Regions from separate parts of the Homo sapiens genome. Here region 2 is linked to region 1. The links are contacts of gene promoters, found by promoter capture Hi-C in blood cells and fetal thymus (Javierre and others, 2016). All regions are on one chromosome and are shown on one strand. The core of a region is centred on a gene start or on the middle of the fragment in contact, and the rest is flanking DNA. Distances in the headings are between cores, read along the strand shown. Region 1 holds the start of MCTP2 (multiple C2 and transmembrane domain containing 2). Region 2 overlaps ARRDC4 (arrestin domain containing 4).

What was found. The method cuts DNA at HindIII sites, captures the fragments that hold promoters and counts their contacts. A CHiCAGO score of 5 or more calls a contact.
Region 2: a contact is called between a fragment that was not itself captured here and the fragment with the promoter of MCTP2 in region 1, in 1 of 17 cell types (M2 macrophages). The highest score is 5.4, in M2 macrophages.

Annotation. Positions count from the first base shown.
Region 1 is chr15:94,229,924-94,233,436 of GRCh38, reverse strand. It overlaps MCTP2 (multiple C2 and transmembrane domain containing 2), which reads right to left and starts at 1,876. Exons shown (of 23, transcript NM_001385001.1): 1 at 1,773-1,876. RefSeq lists a silencer at 1,817-1,946 and an enhancer at 3,482-3,513. The HindIII fragment of the contact is 9,020 bases long and covers 1-3,513 here.
Region 2 is chr15:97,970,989-97,974,501 of GRCh38, reverse strand. ARRDC4 (arrestin domain containing 4) reads right to left here. Exons shown (of 8, transcript NM_183376.3): 8 at 669-3,371. The coding sequence ends at 3,315. Among named protein-coding and RNA genes, the nearest start is that of ARRDC4, 12 kb to the right of the region's middle. RefSeq lists an enhancer at 2,891-3,513. The HindIII fragment of the contact is 1,866 bases long and covers 785-2,650 here.

The sequences.
Region 1 (3,513 bases), core at 627-3,126:
GGAAATTAGCTGTTCCTTCCATGTATAACACAGAGAGAATATATATGCAATTTTATTAATTGGCCCTGTTTGGATATATCAGGCCTTTCAAAATATGTTAAGAGACATAATAAATTTTATCTTTTAACATATTTTGAAAGGCCTTTCAAAATATGTTAAGACACATAATAAATTTTATCTTTTAAAGCTACATCTACTAGTCACAGATAGGTCACAGCTTGACCACACAAGTGCAATGAAAACAGTGCTCACTTCATTCCTGAGGACTACTTTAACTCCATTAATCCCCAGGAGATAGGATCTATGAATATAAATTTGAATTCTTATATTAAATCTGCCGGATTTACACTCTCCATCTTAGAGACAGCATGGAATAGTGAAAAAGTACGAGTTCTGCACTCAGAAATAGCCACATGCAATTTCTAAATTCACCACTGACCTTGTACAAATTACTGGACTCCTCTCTGCCTCAGTTCCTTATCTGCACAGGGGAATAGTATCTACTTTGTAGATTTCATAGACAAGACAAAGTGCCTAGCATGGTGCTTGGCACAGAGCTAATTCTTAATAATCTTATTTTAAGCATGGTTTTGACAATTTTTATTGCTTTGGAATGACTGATCAGGCTAATGACAGAGACTCTTCAAAGATTTACATTCTCCCTGCATTTAAATACTTATAACCAGCGATTACACAGGTGCTGCTGAGGCAAAGCGCAGCACCATTGGTCTCGTTCTAAACACCCACCTGTGAGGAATAAGTGCCTTAAGATTCCCCTTTGTATTAATATCAACACCTGTGCTACCCAACAGCACACCAGCCCGGCTCTCAGAGGTCTGCCCGTTAACAGGTGTACAATAAATATTTGTTGAATTGAAATGCTACTGACTCAAGCAAAAAATGAATGCTAATGTAAATTATAATCCATACAAATCCTTCAATAAGTGGTGTCTGAATTCTGTGCGTCCTGAAGCAAGTGTTCTAACGTCTCACGGTTCACTGAGAAGCTGCTTGGTACCTTAAGGGTTCGCACCCTTGTACCTTCCAGACCAAGCTCTTGTAAGCATCTAGAGGAGGCTGAAACCCTCAGTCAGCATCGCACAGAAGTTCATTCAGACTAGAGAAAACCTCTTTTATGGCAACCCAATCATTTAAAAAAAGCCGTCAGCACATTTGCTTAACAAATGGACAGTGCAGGAGGGAACTAATTGCGGAAACTAATCGCCACTCAAGTTCACCACCAACATCACTGTCTTTATTTTTAACTTACTTATCTTCAGTGGGATTGAGACACTGTTTGTTACCTACGCAATTATCCCAAGGATTTCTGCTCCGGTGTCGTTGAGCAAATGTCAGCGCAAAGAATTAAAGTTGAACCTCCGGGTCTCTACGAAGAGAGCGTATTAAAGCCCACCCAGCTGAGGAACTGACCTCTGTGGAAGGAGTCCTGGATGTGGCGGTGACTACCTCCGTAGCGCCCCGGGGAGACTGAATGTGTGGCCTTTAAAATGCAAAGAAATTCTGGGCCAGGCTGCCCTCCCCTAGTGCGCCTTCCAGTACGCCACGCCTGGATTTCTGCCTCCAGTCCTCAGGACACCTTTCTGATCTCTGAACCACAAGCAGCTCCGGGGTAGTAGCGCCACTGAATTCTCATCCTGGACCCTCCAGCTCCCCAACTCCCAGCTTCGGTTGAGAGAAGACGCCCACCCCCAGGCGGCGACCGTGCTGCCCGGCCCACGCGCGCTGCCAGGTGAACCCGGCACCGCCCTCACCTGTGCGAGGCCGCGTTCGGGGGCTGCAAAGCTGGGCAGGCGCGCGCCCCTCACCTGCACCGGACCCGCTGCAGTCGCCACTCGGAAGCGCAGGGAGCAACCCTGACGCGGCGGGGGCGGGGGCATCACCGAGGGCCCCCGGACTTCCTCGGGCCCCCCCACCGCCCTTGCGAGCCCCGCCTAAAGGGGAGGAGGCGGCCGCGCGTCACCTTTGAGCAGCCTCCGACCCAAGCGCCCGCGCTGCCGCCGGGAGCTCGGCCGGGTGTTGCAAGGAGGCGCTATGCTTGGTGCTGGGCACTGGCTGGGCGTAGAGAAGGCGATTACTTGTAACTCATTCGTTTGGGTTGGCTCACAGGAAAAGGAAGGTGTGTCCAAAAAGTCCGAAGTGAGGAAATAGGACGAGGATGGCTTGCAAACTCGTAAAGTCTTAATAAGCTGTCTTCGCTGATACTCAGAAGGGTTCTCTTCGCTCCTGTAGGTCCCTAATAGATTCATGGGAAGACAGCAGCCTCCCTTTGTAACGCCCTGACCCTGGGAAGAGGTACCCGAGCCAGACAGCCTATTAACCTATGCCACGTGTGCGCGACTGTGGGTGGAAGATGCCCGCCCAGATCCACAGAACTGTTTCCTGAGCCTTGGTGCCTCATCTATGAGATAAGGCCGGCGTACTGCTCAGCAAGCCGTCCCGAGTACTCGGCAGAGAACCCTAAAGACCCTCCCGTGCGATTGTTGGCACTCAGCGAATATTTGCTATTTATTTCCCCTTTCCCTTACTTTCTTTTTCTACTTTTTTTTACGCCGCTTTCCTGCTGTAATTGTCTTATTGCACTTTGTTTGCTCGGTTTCACTGCCTGGTCAGTTTCTTTTCCCGTCTATGAACGAGCCTAAGTCTGTGCGCTCTAGGAATTTGGGTGGATTAGGAAAAGAAATGTATGATCCATGCCTTCTGGGAGATCAGGGACTCATCTCTGGGAAATAGCATTTTTAAATTAGATACAAGAGAGTTACAGAAAATAACCTTAAAACGGGAATGGGACCTCTGGGAATAGGCGAGCTCTGAAATGAAGCGTTTAGTTGGTGTCACTGGTGATTAAGAGCTCCGGCTTTGGAGTCAGACCTCAAATCAAATTCTGCCTGGGCAACTAATTGTGTAAATGGACGAGTTCACTTAACCTCTCTAAATTTTAACTTCAACAAACTGGTTGTTTAAATAGCTTAAAATAGCTTAAATAGCTTAAAATAATAGCTATCTCATACTTTCTGAGAAATTAATTAGGTAATTCACATAAAATCCTCATTACAGTGTCCTGGGCCATGGTAACCACTTAATAAAAGTTAGCTATTAACAATACTAAGGTAGGAAATGGGAGGAAGGGGCATAAAAATTTAGAAAACATGAGGACGTGATAGAAAACAGCTGCCACTGTCATGCAATTCCGACTTACAACAATAGCTACCACTGAGGAACACAACTTCGCACCAGTTTCTGTGATTGGCATGTAACACGTGATCATATTGAATTTTCACAAACCAGGAGACAGTTAATAAAATCTCTGATTCAAGATGAGGAAAATGAGCATCAGAACCATGAAATAACCTGCCTGAAGCTATGAGTCAAGTTAGTAGCCGAGTCAGAGCAAGCTGAGGCCTATGGCAAAATTGGCTTTTCCCACCGTGCCGAAGGTTACATCCCCTAGCAGAGAACAGAGAGAGGTAAGGGTAAAACAGCATGAAAGGAAGA
Region 2 (3,513 bases), core at 468-2,967, 3.7 Mb before region 1:
TTTTCCTCAGTATCGCATAAGACAGATATTTCAACTTACGTTGATTATAAATGTGGATACAGAAAGAACCTATTTATTATGTAACACCATCTACTAGAAATAACTGAAGAGCAAACCAACTGGACTAATTCTTACTCCTTAGTTCAGGTGGTAGTTTTCCAGGCAGAGGGTCTGGGCGGTTTCCTTGAAATGACATACCATCACATCCTCCTTGTATAAAGTATAGTGCTCATATCTACTGGAGTGTTTGCGTAGAAAGGGGTGGCATACTTAGGTCAGTGTGTCCCAGGAAGAGTCCCTTGACTACCCATGAGACCTGCTAAATCGATCCTGGGGAGATTCTGGACAATCACACACTCAAACTCAGGAGGCTTTAAAGAGTAATCCTTATCATTTGGGAATAAATGATGATATGCTTTTTTAACCAATATAGCTTTAGTTTCCTCACTTGTCTCAGCTACTTTTCTTCATGGAATGCTAACACTGGACTACCTTGGGAACCGGAGCCCACTGTAAAAACAAAGTCAGGTTCTAGGGCTGTTCCTCCCTCATGATAACACACCTAGAGAAAAGGATTTCAACTGCAGCAACATTTGTTTTTTTGGCATTGAGTTCCCTTAAGTCTATAATAATTTATATTTGAAAAAAAAAACTAGCACCTCATAGCATTAGTGTAATAATTTTATTAATAAAACGAACCCATAGGGTTCAAACAAGCATACAAAGTAATTTTTTTTCCTGTGGGTTAAATTGTTACATTTTTAATAATAAAAATAAGAAAGCTTTCATAGTTAACTTACCAAAAACATAACGCTTGCCTATTGTTTCTTACTGTGCAAAACAAAAACAAAGTTTTGCCCACAGAAGGATTTTGTGCACCAAAACATGCACATTTTCAATTTCAAAATTTCTGCATCAAAATGAAAATTCCAAGGCCACGTTTTTGTTTTTTCAAACTAAAGAAGAGCAAGAGGGGAATAACCAAGCAAATAACAGCAGCTACATTTTTAATCTTCATTCCCAGGTATTTTCTGTTTCAATGTAGAATTCTCCACATTCATAAAATGATATCTTCAACCTACTGCTTACAGTCAGATATGCCAGTATCATTTCAATAAGGCAAGTCACACCTTTTAGCTATTCTCTTAAGTCCTACAGAGATAGTTTCACTTCAATTTCACAGGGACACTTCATGATTTATCTAATAAAGGTGATAAGACAATCCTAGTGAAGGATTCCTTTAAGTTGTTGCTTTTCTAGATGGAACCAAATAATTAAACTTTCTCTTCTCCATACTGGAGTTTGTTTCTTTCATTATGTTTTAGTATCATGGAGTCGAACAATGCCTTGGCAGGGCATGAACTATATAACTCAGAAGTCAATAAACAGTTGAAGATGATCTTTTCTAAAGTAAAAATCAACTGTTTAGACAACACTTAAATACACATTACCTGTTTAAAGACACACACACGAAAGCAAAATTTAAAAACCAAATCAAGGAATAACGTTTTGTGACAATTTCAGTAGCACAATTACTGGTCTAACAGTTTTGCATTGTGGGAATTTAAATAGCGGCTTACAATGAAAGAACTATGCACGATGCTTCCAGGATTGCAGAGGAGAGAGGTAAGCCCAGAGGATGAAAAGCATACATTTGCCTAATGTGTGTAGAAAATTCCCTGATCAAATGGCCAACTAACTTTTAAATACAAAATTTAACCTTAGAAGAACTTTTCTATTTTTGGTGAACATGCTGATTGAAAGAAAAATCAATCATTCTGTTAAATGAAGTACAGTATTCTGCAGGGGAAGCACCAGGGTTTCTGGATCAAACCCTTAGGACATGAAGAAAACCAAAGTACTCTGCTGGTTCAAAATCTGTATCACAGGAATCCCTGGCTCCCTTCCATGTGTCCAGAGATGCTCTCAGCTCACAAAACCAACAGATGGAAGGAAAAGCAAGTGAACATGTGACCATGTGGGAGGGGGGCTGGGGACGGTAAAACACTGCTCAGACTTTCAGCAGCAACACAATCCTGTTGGTCTGAATATCCTGAGGTTAAATGATAATAAAATATTGCACCAACACAATAAAGAAAATCACAGTTTAAACAGAATTACTGAAGAACTGGAATAATGTACAATGCAGTGACTGCCATCAGTAGACCTAGGTCTCTTGACAGGAATTAAAGTTGTGTCTTTTCTAAAAATGGCACTCCTACCTTCTTTTGGTTTGGTGTTTATTTTGACATTCTCTTAGGTATACATATATTTACTTCCATTTAACGCTAACTTACTGAATTTTCCCCTTGGCCCAGTTTCATATTTAGTGATAGATGAGACTGTGGCTGTAAACAGCAGCAACTCCCAAGAAGAGTACTCAGGGCGAGAGATTTAAAAACATATCTGATAACCCCATTAGAGGTAGGTTAGAAAAAGGCCTTTTATTTGGGACTGTGTAGTTATCAAGGCATCCTGCAGATGCAACCTTTTCTCTCCCTTCTTTCTCTTACATGCTCCTAGGTAAATAAGATATGAGGAAAATCAAACGTATATCCTGTTAAAGCACTTAAAGGGGGTAAAAAGTACAGCCCTCAACAAAACGTGTTTTCACATTGAAATTCATCTTTCCTCTTTGAACCGACAAGCTTTTCAAGAAACCCTTTCTTGGTTTCATAATACCGTACTGCCGATTTATAAACTATATTTTAGTCTACCCTTGAAAGAATGAAAACTGTAGTACTTCATTAGGACCTCATATGACCATGATCTCAAGAAAAGATGCTTTTTCAATGTCTTTAGGCCTGAATATGGTAGGAAATCATGAAGCACCCAAAGACTCAGGATCTCACTTCGTATTTGGAGTGGGCCATTCTCCTATGCACACACACCCTTGTTTTGTTGCCCTCTCCAAAATCAAGTCTTCACCCCTTCAGTTCATATCGCCTTCGTTCCACTCTTCACCATGGGAAACTCCCACAGTGTTTCCACTGTTTACAGATTCCTTTCTCTCACGTCAGCGCAGGCACCCTTTCACTTACTCTGTAACCATCAGGACTTCCATTACATTCTGTGACTTTGCACATCTTCATCCCAGTTTTTAACAGGGATATATATACGACCATCATATAAACTTGTGCGGCAATCCTGCCGGCCCACCAGAACTTTCTCACATTCTTTAATTTCTATTGCCTTCAGTCTTGACGTTCATTTATGTTTTCAAGTGAATCTTTCCTGTCTCTTTCCCAAAAAGGCAGAAGGAAAAGAACCAACATTCTAATTTGATGATGAACACAGTGATTTCTGAAATACGTTCAGAGAATGAAGGAAACAGGCTGGCTCTCTTCTACGTCGCTAGGATGTGGGTCAACCTGCAAAAAAAGAGCGGACTGAGATTAGTGTTGTAGCATTATTTAAAACGATTCTAGTACCTATTTGTAATTATATGATGGTTATATGCCAAGCTGGTCAGAGCCTGTGTAAGTCCCAGAAGGTGCTTAAGTTCTCTATATT